3 separate regions of the Homo sapiens genome follow, and regions 1 and 3 are each linked to region 2. Evidence: promoter capture Hi-C in 16 types of primary human blood cells and fetal thymus (Javierre and others, 2016). All regions are on one chromosome and are shown on one strand. The core of a region is centred on a gene start or on the middle of the fragment in contact, and the rest is flanking DNA. Distances in the headings are between cores, read along the strand shown. Region 1 has its middle 13 kb from the start of SFPQ. Region 2 holds the start of TFAP2E (transcription factor AP-2 epsilon). Region 3 has its middle 33 kb from the start of SFPQ.

Region 1 (4,242 bases), core at 459-2,958, 390 kb after region 2:
TTCCTCCTTTTCACCTCTTTTCTTGGTGCTAATTGGCAAAAGAAAAATTCTAAGTCAAACCTTTATTAACATGCTGAAGTTTAGTATTGTGCCTGTGTACAAAAGGAGACCTATTGTTGGAACAATCTGAGCACTTTCTGCATAGGAAACAGGATAATGCTGAAAGTAAACACTAGTGTATAAAAGCATCTCACCAAATACTGGTTGTATGACTGACAGGTACATGGTGTGCTAAGGGAGAGAATCTCATTAGAAAGTAATGCTCATTATATCATTCACCAGCACACTCGGAAATATGAGTAGTTTTACCATGATTATATCAGTGAGGAAGTTTTGTCCCCAAACAGGTTATTAATTGGTGATACATAAGAGATTTTCTGTACGGAAACAAGGGTCTTGATTAGAAAGGAATCCATTACAGTTTGGTTGAATTATATAGTAGGGACTCTACTAAAGACAAGAAAATAAGGGGTGTTCCATGGGACACCCACAGAGGGTGAACTTTGAATGTGTGTGGGTGGGGGCTGGTCGGGAAATGGGAAAATCTGCCTATAAAATTAATGTTTCAGTTTATTTTTCAGATTACATGCCTTTCTTTATAAGGGATGCTGGCACAGACCCCCTAAAATAAGCTTTTGGTAGTACTGTACCTTTGAAGAGTGGTGAAGGATGCTAATGGATAATCTCCTGAAAGTTGTGGCTTTTGATACCCTTACTGTGGACTGTAGAGTTGCTAAACGTTGTTTAGCAAATAATGTTGCTTAGTTTCAAATGACATTTGACTTTCATCACTAAAACAGCAATGTACTCAGGGTTGTAAGCTTACTCAAATAGACTTTCAATAAGTCTTCAATGTATATATGATAGTTTTTAGCCTAATGTGAATTTAAATAATCTTAATAGTTTCCTAAAAGTCGATCTGAAACTTGGGGTGGGAAAGGGGAGGTAGCAATTTTTGAAGTATTTTAGCCATTTTTTTCATTTAAAGAAACCACTTGTCCCCATTTCCTCTTCTCCACTTTCTCATAATTTTGTTTTAAGAGGAACACTGGTTGTTTTTTATACTTCTCCTAATCTTTAAAAACTGCATATTGTTAAGACCCCAGTGTATTTAATAGGTATTTTATAAGCATAGCCCATTGGCTCATGTTAGTGAAACCATAATCCTCTTTGCTTAGAACATTAAACTCATAAGAAGTACTACAAACCCCACCACTCTTTATAGATGTATTGTACCACTAATATAAACAGCTAAAAAATGGGGAAATTGTAATGTTACGCCTGTGCAATTTTTAAGTGGCATATTATGGCAGATTAAAATTTAGATACTTGGCTTTTCTTGGGCAAGCCACTAAGTTGTGGCGGAATGTTTTCTGGTGTTCTTGGACTGCAATTATGCACTATTAAAGTAGTGGCCTGCTACATAACTGCATTTAGCCAGCATTTCTGCAGTGCGTAACTGTGAGGAACGTAGTACCGCAAATGGCAATGGACATTAGGACCCGGATGTAGTATTCCTGCTTGCTCCAAGATTCTCATTGCCGACTGCATACAGGTAGGTAACAAGCAATATAATCTAACTTGGTGACTTGTATGTACTTTTATTCCGTGGGCATTCTGGCATCACATTTCTGACAATGAAATTACAGTGCAGCACCTAACACTTGTATGGTAAAGCTAGCTTACATCAAAACTGTGTGGGTGTGGGGTTAGAGCTGTAATTTGTCAGGCAGAATTCAGTGCTGTTGCAGTTCTCAGATAAAAAGTGCAAACTTGATTCTTTGGTATATCTGACTCAGTTGTGTGGTTTCCTTTAGTTGCATTGTAACTGAAGATAACATGGAACACATCAGTGGTGTGGGGGAGAGGGAACTAAACTATACTTGGGAACTAGGGTGCTTTTAGCACCTTGACATGGACCGTATAGCATGTGATAATTAGTCTCTATTGTAGCAAACTGACCTGCCCATAGATCGGCAATATCAGTAATTTCATTATGCAATCTTGGTAATTCTACAAGTTGAGTTGAACTAAAAGTACAGGTTTTTTTGTAATGCGATTTAAAATTTTTAAAAACATGGGCTTCATGAAAACACCATTGTTACTAACTTGGGCTTAGATGGGAATCTAATGTGAATAGTTCAAGTTATGGGACTTGTCTAAATGTGTCTATACTCTAAACCTGGGGGAAGGTGGTGTGGAACATTGACTTGACTACAGTCGAATACATGTTGGGAATCATTCCCAATCATAAGACATCGTCGTTTCTGTAGGATGACTGCATATGTTCAGAGTAGCTTTTTGAATTTGGTTCCCTTAGCTTTAGGGATGTGATGTTATAGTCCAAAATGTTTACAAGAAAACCTAAGTCTTCAAAAGCACAACTTTTGTTGCTTAGGACTTTGCATCAACTGTTGTTCCAGACCTCACTTCAACTTCTTGGTCTCTGAACTGGTTTTAGCTAGCATGCATGAGAGACAGTTTTCATGTATAATGTTTCTGCTCTGTAACTGGAAAGTGGTTTACTTTGCATAAATGCTGATGAAAACTTCATGACTATGAGACTTTTCTTCTGTGTATCAAGAAAAAGCTTGCTCGTTGGCAAGCAATTCACAAGGTGGGGACAGACTTGTACTTTAACATGTAGTCCATTCAAGCAAACAACTTTGGACTCTACTGATAGATGAAAGAGCAAATGATGACTAGTTTAGCCTCTGCATATCAACAATATAATGCAGATCAAGTATAATGCTCAATATTAGTGACATGAGTATCACTAAATTACATAGAACCCTGATGGGGTTTCCTGTGTCGTAATCCATTAAATCGGTGGCCAGTGCTTGCTGCCGTGGTTTAGTGATTGGGTGTTAGAAATAAAAACTCAGGTCTATTTCTTACCAGTCAGTAACAATTTTTAGAGAATGTACTTGGTATATAATATATGGACTTCAGGAACTTTATTGGGGTGGGGGGTTAATTTTGCCTTACCCTGTTCACTTTCAGATGATTAGGCTTTTGCACTTTAGAATGAGAAACTTGTGACGTTAGTGTGTTCTTACTAGCTTTAATTTGTATGTAGCAATGAATTGTGAATCTTAGTGCAGTGGGTTTTTTTAAAAAACTCAAAAAGCTGGGAATTAAGTGGTTTCAGTAATAATGCTATACCGAGGTGCTTGCATTGTATTTCATAATTTTGTTACAAACCAAAATTATTTTTAATGAGAACAGTCTTGGGTTCAGAGGTGTGATGCCAGAATGTATTTTCGTACTGTTAGGCCCTTGGAACAGATACCGGTGCTTTCTGAAAGATGAAAGAAATGCAATGGGTGCTCTTCATGCAAGGTTGCAAACCTACCAAGAATGCATAATAGTCTCACTTTTCCCCAATAAAGAGATGCGTGTGACTAGTTTTGGACTTTTAACCTTAATGGGGGTTGCATGTCTCCTATTGTTAATCATTGTCAGCTGCAGTGACATGATCCACAGTCCTGCATTTACTGCCTTTCACTTAATGATTTTGGACAGGTTTTAGAGAGCCAGGATGTTGGTCTGGGCCTTTATTTGGTTTTGGCTTTAGCTGATAATGTTTTAGTGATGTCAGCTAGTGCAGTTCTCAAATGGCTGCCTATTAGGGAAAGAATTCAGAGGATTTGACTGCTCCTAATCATCTGTCATTGCTGCTAGATAATGATTGGCAATTTTTAAGACTCAACTGGAAATCTCAACAGTTGCTGGTAAACCATTAACCATAAAAACGTTGCTTTTGAACACCAGTGCTGAAAAAAATATTTTTTTTTTTTTTTTTGAGAGTGAAAAGGGCTTGGACTTAAGATAGGACAATGTGGAGAATGGGGGGAAGAATGCAAAACGATATAGTATCCCTTATGGATGGTACATGTGCAACAGGGAACTCTTACTTCATATACCCTTTGCAGTAATCATTCAGGGAGGAAGAAAAACCTGGAACTTGAATGAAGGCTGATCTTTGTTTTGTGCACTGTGGCCCTGCCAGGCATATAGTGAAGGTGAATGTCTTCTCCCTCAGAAAAAAATTGGTTCCTTGCTGTCCCAGTAAGGCATAGCTTTTCCAGCCCTAACTTTAAAACTCAGTGAGGACTTAGATGGGAAAGAATGAGGTAAATACAAAGGATTGCAGGACAACAACTACAGCGTTGTGTACTGTGGGAAGGGGAGTTGGGCACTCTTGGAGGACTCCTGCTGAAGGTGGTCAGCCTGCCTGAC
Region 2 (4,273 bases), core at 1,106-3,605:
ACAGAAACAGACACACTCACACTCCAAGAAATACTAAGACACCCATGAAGGGAACATTTCAGACATGCACAGGACCCTGAACTCACATGGACACAGACACCCAGGAGCAGGTGGGCCCTGACTCAGGTGCACACAGCCTAACACACAGTACTCACACACAAGCTCCCCTAAGTCTAAATGCCGCAAGAGACTCCCACAGAAAGAAAATTCCCCCAGAGGCCTCCAAGGCCCTGCCTGGAAGGAAGAGGAAGAAAGTGCCCGCCAGGCACCGAAATGCTAAGGCACTGTAAAGTGAAAATCATTTCCCCAACTCCGTGGGAACAGCACTTCCATTCCCATCTCTTAGGGAAACAGGGAAGTGGTTTAACTCGTTCTGCAAATCAACTCCAGATCCACAAGAGTGCCCTCCCCCTCGGCGGGGAGAGGCCAGGCTCCCAGTGCTGCAGCCCAGTGAATGCTGATCCGCTGAGGCCCACCCCAGGCCACAGGGTGCTGGGCAAACTCACCAAGCCCGCACGTCTGCCTAACATCTGGCTGGGCCAGGAAGAGTGCCTGGTGGACACCCAGCCTGGCGACACACAGGAGGCACGGCCGGTGAAGAAAATGGATCTGTGCACCAAGGGCCTGCACCATCTCGCCGGGCTCTGCCCTGACAGACCATTCCTTACCTTTCTTGATCACGGACTGGTCTAGGAGGCTCATTCCCGGCTCGTCCATTGCCTGCAAATAGCAGAGGGCAGCGGTGAGGGCGCATAAAGCCCTAGCCGCCCATGTCTTCCCAAGCCCCTGCCACCCAGGGTCTCTGTCTGCTCCGCCCAAGGCGCACCAGCTTCGCTTGGGGCGGCGACGGGCAGGCCCAGGAATCGCTATGTCCAGGCACTGAGCTGGAGCCCTGGGCATCTCACTGTGCAGTGCAAAAAGGGAATTTTGAATCTTACACTGGTAACTATTATGCTTCTCTTCGCCCCAGGTGCAGGCTGCCCCATGGATGCCACACGTGGCAGCGGGGAGAAAAGAAGTGATTCGGTCCCTGCCGAGGGTTGCTGCCACCCACGCACTGCTGGCGGACTCAGTGCCAGGCAGCCTTGATGGCCAGGCAACGTCTAACCCAGGAGGTGGGACACATCCTCGGAGTCACCAGTGAGATGTGGCGAGCTGGGAGAAAAGTCGGCTTCCTGCATTTGTCACCTTCTGCCTCCAGCCATGGTAGTAAACCACCGCGGCCAGTCCCGACCCATCCCGGATCCCTCGGGTCTCACCTGCAGGTCCTCCAGACCGGGGGCCGCCGCCAGCCCCGGAAGGCCGAGAGGTGCGTCTGCCAGGCCGTGCGCGCCGTCGGCCAGGCCGTGCAGGAGCCGGGGCACGGCAGTGGCATAGTCACGGCGCGGGTCAAGGCCCAGGGCGCGGGCGGGCGGTGCCAGCAGGCCGGGAGGCTCCTCGTGGGCGCGGGCGGCTGCGCGGGGCGCGGCCCAGGCGGCCTGAGGAGGCTGCGGCTGCGCCAGGGGCGCCAGGCCGCCATATGGGTCCCCTGCCAGGTGGGGAAAGGCTGCGGCGGCGTCGGGCGCCTGACCGTAGGGCAGCGGTGGCTGCGGGTAGGGCGGCGGGAAGTAGGGCGGCTGGAATTCGGCGGCAGCTGTGGCGGCCGGCGTGTGGCAGAGCGGGGGCGCCGGCCCGTAGGCCGCCTGGGGCAGAGACGACAGGCGGGCCCCGCCGGCAGCTGCTCCCAGCCCGTCGGGGCGCTCCTGGGGAAGGAGAGGGGTGCCTTAGGTGACCCACTGGCAGCTGAAAGGACCCCAGCCTGAAAGGATCCTCCTCAGCTCGGGAGGGTTCAGCTGCAGTCCCTCCCGTTTCTTGGGGCCCGAGGTTTATTTCCGAGCCACCCGCGGGCGCAGGAGCCTCAGGCTGGGGACAGCGGTCACTTGCGCATCGCGTTCTCAGCTGGCGAAGTCCCTGCGGCCCCCTCCCTCCGAGATTTCGTTAGCGCGGGACAGGAGGGTTGGAAAGTCCAGCACTCAGGCGCCCCGATCCCCCGGCCGAATATGTCCCGGGCCCGAGACTACTCACCATGGCGGAGTAGGTGTGCACCAGCATGGGGCGGTGAGTGCCGGGCGCGAGGCGTGGCGGCGGCGGAGCCCTAGCCCGACGGCGAGCGCTGCGGGCAGAGGCGCCGGGAGCCGGCACAGCCCGCGGAGGTCACGGTGCGGTAGCTGGGTGCGACCCAGCCGGGATCCTAGTGGGCGTGGGGTCCTCAGCGGTGGCCGTTCCCGGGCGGGTCCATGGAGGCAGGACGGACGGGCACTGATCGCACTTGGAAAAGTCGGTCAACGGGTGCCCAGCGCCCGCCCTTCCTCCTCTGAGCGTAGCCTGCTCCATGCACTCCAGTTATAGTGGCGGGGGCGCGCCGGGCCTCCGGGGGCGCGCATTAAAGAGACAAGCTATGGCAGTTCTCTCCCTTTTCCCCAGCGGCTGCCACAGGGGAGGCAGTGGCTTTGGCGGGATCGGGTAGGGTGGGTAGGGGGCGTGAATTCAGCCCACATTGATCAGAGCCGCCTTCTGGGCTCGCAGCTCGCAGCTGCAGTGAAACAGAAATATTCGAGGCTGGGACGCAAGGGCCCTACATTTGCCTGGCTCTATCACATCCTTGCCTTTAAGCAAAGCACTATTCTTCGCTGGCCTCAGCTTCCTCGGTAAAATAGGTATCAATCCTTTCTCTAAGCACCTCAAGAGACTTTGGATGAGGTGGGTAATCGGGAACGTGGAAGAAGTTTGTGAGCTGAAGACTCCAGCCTATCTGCTCATGCGCACACAGTGTCAGTGCGTGTGTTTAGGGGGTCTACCATCACAGTCTTTCCTGAATGGTTCTGGATCAAAATCCCTCGAAGGTGCCCACTTCGCTCTCAGGCTTCCTGGGCTGAAAACTTCCAAGCCAAGCCAGGCTCTGAGGGAGTTGGAGACAGAAGCTGGCCAGACAGAGAGAGAGACTTGCCTGGGATGGGTTTGGGTATGAGCTCCACCTGACAAGGGGCCAAGATATTTCTGAAGCCACAGGGTCCTGGGCTGATTGAGTGTGGGCATGAGATACCCAGAGACTGTTGAGTGACTGTGTGTAACTGACTAGCATGGATGCCGTGTGATTGTTACACTAACATGCGCAGGCTACATGTTCCTGTGTTACCATGGCAGGCACTCCCTGGCTGTCAAGCAAGTTCCAGTCTCTGTAGTCACTCTCTCTTTCTCCCCAAACCCAACCCTCCCCTCCTGACAAGCAGAGACAGGGATTAAAGATGGACAAATGAGAGGAATGCTAAGGAGAACAGGAATTAAGAAAGCAGAAGAAAGATGTTTTTTAAAAGCAAGATGTGCAGACCAGGGCAAAGTAGAAATAATCACAGCAGACTTATTACAGAATGTGCCAGCCTCTGTGCAAAGTGCTTCACGAATATTGGGTTCTTTAACCCTCACAGCAGCTCTATGAAAGAGATACCCATATCATCCCCATTTTCAGGGGAGGGGTGAGGCATGGAGAGGTTAAATGGCTTGCCCAAGGTCAAGCAGCTAAGTGGCAGAGCTGGGGTGATCTGCCCCTGGCCCCTCTCTGCTCAGAATCACTATTCTCTACTGCCTCAGACTCAGGGGCTTGGATTTAGTCCTGACTCTGCCTAACTGTGTGATCCTAGCTACATCCCGTTTCCTCTGTGATCTCAGTTTCTGCAACTTCGACAACACCAATAAAAAAGTAGGGGAAGGCAGAGAAGACTAGTTGTTTTTTTAGGTCCCTTTTTAGTGAAGTAGTAAATGAGAAGATTAAGGTAAAATTATTGATATAGAAGAGGAGGTGATAGTGACACCATTAACTCATGGAATATATGGTTCCAAGTGGGTATCCCAGAAGGCACATGGCAGGTGCAGAGCTCAGGGCTGGATGATCTCAGCCTGGGGAGTGGTGGGGAAAGAAGGAGGCTAGAAGCCAAGGATTCATCATTAAGAACTTTCTGAAGTCTGGAACCGCCAGCGAGGTTCCAGAGGATGAAGCGGAATTGGGAAGCTTTGCAACTTTCCTGCTCGAGATGGGTCAGAGATCAGGATTGTGTTTGTGTGTATCTATATATGAGGGAGTCTGTGGCAATGCCCTGTTCCTCCCTCCCTCAACCCCAGCCACAGGGCATCAGAAGTCAAGCTCCAGGACAGGTGTCAGTGCGTGAATAGAAATTGATGAACTCCTCTGGGAGAAGTCTAGGAGCCGCAAAGGAGATGATGCCTGTGCCCAGCTGCG
Region 3 (4,005 bases), core at 1,024-3,523, 410 kb after region 2:
TGAGATTGTGCTGCTACTGCAGTCCAGCCTGGGCAACTGGAGACTCTGTCTAAAAAAAAAAAAAAAAAAAAACTCTGAACTCTGTCTCCTCAATGCAGCAAGAACTCCACGCTCTTGTTTGGGTCCTCTTCTCTACACCATGGATCAGATAAAGCTTCCAGGCAGACAGCATGTGACAATCATGAGTTTCACTTTCACCCAGGCTGGAGTGCAGAGGTGCTTGCCTCATTTACTACCCTTTTTTCAAGAATCACAATCCTGTATAGCCTATTTTGCAATGTGTTATGGACTGAATTGTGTCCCCCAAAAATCCAATTGAAGTCTTAACCCCTAGTGTATCTCAGAATGTGACTATATTTGTAGATAGGGCCTTTCAAGAAATAATTAAGGTAAAATGAAGGCATACGGGTGAGGCCTTACTCCATTACGGCTAATATCTTTATGAGAAAAGGAAGAATCACCATGGATGAGTGGACCACATGAGGACCAGGAAAGGACACAGCAAGTAGACTGCCCTCTGCAAGCCAAGGAGAAAGACCTCAGAAGAAATTAAACCTGCCAACACTGCCATCTTGATCTTCTACACTCAAGAACTGTGAGAAAATACACTCCTGGCTTTTTTTTTTTTTTTTTTTCTGAAATGGAGTCTCACTCTTTTGCCTAGGCTGGAGTGCAGTGGCACAATCTCAGCTCACTGCAACCTCTGCCTCCCAGGTTCAAGCGATTCTCCTGCCTCAGACTCCTGAGTAGCTGGGATTACAGGCGCCTGCCACCATGCCCAGCTAATTTTTGTATTTTTAGTAGAGACAGGGTTTCACCATGTTGGCCAGGCTGGTCTCGAACTCCTGACCTCAAGTGATCTGACTCCTCCTCGGCCTCCCAAAGTGCTGGGATTACAGGCGTGAGCCACTGCACCCGGCCTATTTCTGTTTTTTTTTGTTGTGTTTTGTTTTGTTTTGAGACGGAGTCTCGCTCTGTTGCCCAGGCTGGGGTGCAGTGGCATGATCTCGGCTCACTGCAAGCTCCGCCTCCCAGGTTCATGCCATTCTCCTGCCTCAGCCTCCTGAGTAGGTGGGACTACAGGCGCCCATCACCACGCCCGCCTAATTTTTTGTATTTTTAGTAGAGACGGGGTTTTACCATGTTAGCCAGGATGGCCTCGATCTCCTGACCTTGTGATCCACCCGCCTCAGCCTCCCAAAGTGCTGGGATTACAGGTGTGAGCCACCGCGCCTGGCCCCTATTTCTGTTTTTTAAGCCACTAGTCTGGTATTTTGTTATGGCAGCTCTAGCAAACACATATACCATGTATGAACAGCAGTTGTTTTGTATACTTCATGCAGTTTTCTAGTTGTTTACAGCACTAAGGGAAATCTGGTACCAGTTTTCTGTCTGAGCTGGAAGCTGAATACAACAGATTTGTTTTAACAGAGACAGAACAAGTTGGAAAAAGTTATAAATAGTCACACGAATTTCCATTTTACACAGGAAAACGTAATGAACATTTTAAAAAACAGCTTAAATGAAGTAATTGATATACAATAAACTGCACATATTTGAAGTACAAACTTGATAAAGTTTGACATATGTATACACCAATAAGATCATTACCACTGTCAATCTAAATAATAAAGAGAAAGAGGCTCTCTAAAAGAAAAAGAGATTTATTCAGGAGTTACGCATTGCAATGGGAATATGTGTGCCACAGTAAACTATGTATATGTATTGAATAGGTAAAGAAAGACAAAGGTTTTGGCTGGATGCGGTGGTTCATGCCTGCAATCCCAGCACTTTGGGAGACTGAAGTGGGTGGATTACATGAGGCCAGGAGTTCGAGACGAGCCTGGTCAACATGGCGAAAACCTGTCTCTACTAAAAATACAAAAATTAGCCGGGGATGGTGGTGCATGTCTGTAATCCCAGCTACCGGGGAGACTGAGGCGGGAGAATCAAACCCAGGAGGCAGAGGTTGCAGTGAGCTGAGATCACACCACTGCACTCCAGCCTGGGTGACAGAGCAAGACTCTGTCTCAAAAAAAAAAAAAAAAAAAAGAAAAAGGAAAAAGACAGAGGAGAAAGGTTTTCAAAGGAAAAAATGAAGAGGATTACATCATTGTTTTGAAATGATATCCTTGGCTATAAAAATCCTTAACAAGGGTGTTGCCTGGCTGAGGTTGGACAGGCAGTTGCTTGGTAGATGTCTTTGCAGATGAATTTTTTGTGTAAGTTTGTGATGGCTTTTTTGCAAGGTTGTGTTTTTTCAAGGGTCTTTTGTGATAGCTTCTGTTATGAGACATACAAGCCTTCCCTGGCTCTATTTTTTTTTTTAAACACTAGTGACTCCTAGTGTTAAATCTCAATTCTAACAACTTTCACATTACAATCAAGATAAAATGGCTGCCACCCCCAAAAGTTTCCTTGTGTCCCTTAGTAATCCTTGACTCCTGTACCTATACATCCCTCCTTTGCCTCTACCAATCTACAGGCAACCACTGATCTGCTTACTTACCACTATAGGTTAGTTTCCATTTTCCAGAATTTTATATGAATAGAATCTTTGACATGTGTTTTGTGTGTGTGTATGTGTGTGTGTGTGTGTGATGGAGTCTCCCTCTGTTGCCCAGGCTGGAATGCAATGGCGCGATCTCAGCTCACTGCAACCTCTGCCTCCCGGGTTCAAGCAATTCTCTGCCTCAGCCTCCAGAGTAGCTGGGATTACAGACACCAGCCACCACGCCCAGCTAATTTTTGTATTTTTAATAGAGATGGGATTTCACCATCTTGGCCAGGCTGATCTTGAACTCCTGACCTCATGATCCACCCACCTTGGCCTCCCAAAGTGCTGGGATTACAAGCATGAGCCGCTGCACCCGGCCTCTTTTTTTTATTTGGCTTCTTTCACTCAGCATTATTTTGAGAGTCATACACATTGTTAGGTGTATCAATAGTTTGTTGGGTTCTTTTCTGAGACAGTCTCACTCTATTACCCAGGCTGGAGTGCAGTGGCATGATCACAGCTCACTGCAGCCTCGACCTCCCAGGCTCAGGTGATCCTCCCACCTCAGCCTCCCAAGTAGCTGGGACCGCAGGTGCTCACTACCATATCTGGCAAATTTAAAAAAAAATTTTGCAGGCCAGGTGTGGTGGTTCACCCCTGTAATCCCAGCCTGTGGGAGGCCAAGGCAGGGCCAATCACAAGGCCAGGAGTTCGAGACCATCCTGGCCAACATAGTGAAACTCTGTCTCTACTAAAAATACAAAAAAAAAAAAAAAATTAGCCAGGAATGGTGGTGCGTGCCTGTAGTCCCAGCTACTTGGGAGGCTGAAGCAGGCGAATTGCTTGAACCCAGGAGGCAGAGGTTGCAGTGAGCTGAAATCACATCACTGCACTCCAGCCTGGGCAACGAGTGTGTCTCAAAAAAAAAAAAAATTTTTTTTTTTTTTTTTAGCAGAGATGAGGTCTTCCTATGTTGCCCAGGCTGGTCTGGAACTCCTGAGCTCAAGCAATCTTCCTGCCTCAGCCTCCCAAAGTTCTAGGATTATAGGTGTGAACCACCATGCCTATCAGTAGTTTGTTTCTTTATTTCTTTTCTTTTTCTTTTCCTTGTTTTTTTTTTTTTTTTTTTGAGATGGAGTCTCCCTCTGTCACCCAGGCTGGAGTGCAGTGGTGCAATCTCAGCTCGCTGCAATCTCTGCCTCCCGGGTTCAAACGATTCTCCTGTCTCAGCCTCCCGAGTAGCTGGGATTACAGGAGCCCACCACCACACCCGGCTAATTTTTGTTTCTTTAGTAGGGACAGCATTTCACCACGTTGCCCAGGCTAGTCTCGCACTCTTGGCCTCAAGTGACCCACCCGCCTCAGTCTCCTAAAGAAATACCTAGTTTTTGTATCTACGCAATGTAATGTATTCTAATAATTTTCTTTCTTTTTTTTTTTTTTTGAGACCGAGTCTCACCCTGTCACCCAGGCTGGAATGCAGTGGCGTGATCTGAGCTCACTGTAAC

Evidence for each region. Contacts are between HindIII fragments. The CHiCAGO score rates a contact against its expected background, and 5 or more counts as called.
Region 1: a fragment that was not itself captured here is called in contact with the fragment with the promoter of TFAP2E in region 2 in 1 of 17 cell types (monocytes); the score reaches 5.6 in monocytes.
Region 3: a contact is called between a fragment that was not itself captured here and the fragment with the promoter of TFAP2E in region 2, in 1 of 17 cell types (M2 macrophages). The highest score is 5.2, in M2 macrophages.

Annotation. Positions count from the first base shown.
Region 1 is chr1:35,178,448-35,182,689 of GRCh38, reverse strand. It overlaps a transcript of SFPQ not described here. Among named protein-coding and RNA genes, the nearest start is that of SFPQ, 13 kb to the left of the region's middle. The HindIII fragment of the contact is 1,769 bases long and covers 824-2,592 here.
Region 2 is chr1:35,571,396-35,575,668 of GRCh38, reverse strand. It overlaps TFAP2E (transcription factor AP-2 epsilon), which reads right to left and starts at 2,355. Exons shown (of 7, transcript NM_178548.4): 1 at 2,065-2,355; 2 at 1,260-1,742; 3 at 669-720. The coding sequence starts at 2,091. TFAP2E-AS1 (TFAP2E antisense RNA 1) reads left to right here. Exons shown (of 3, transcript NR_183387.1): 2 at 971-1,309. RefSeq lists enhancers at 904-1,650, 1,892-2,391. The HindIII fragment of the contact is 6,124 bases long and covers 1-4,047 here.
Region 3 is chr1:35,158,623-35,162,627 of GRCh38, reverse strand. No RefSeq gene overlaps it. Among named protein-coding and RNA genes, the nearest start is that of SFPQ, 33 kb to the left of the region's middle. The HindIII fragment of the contact is 4,233 bases long and covers 157-4,005 here.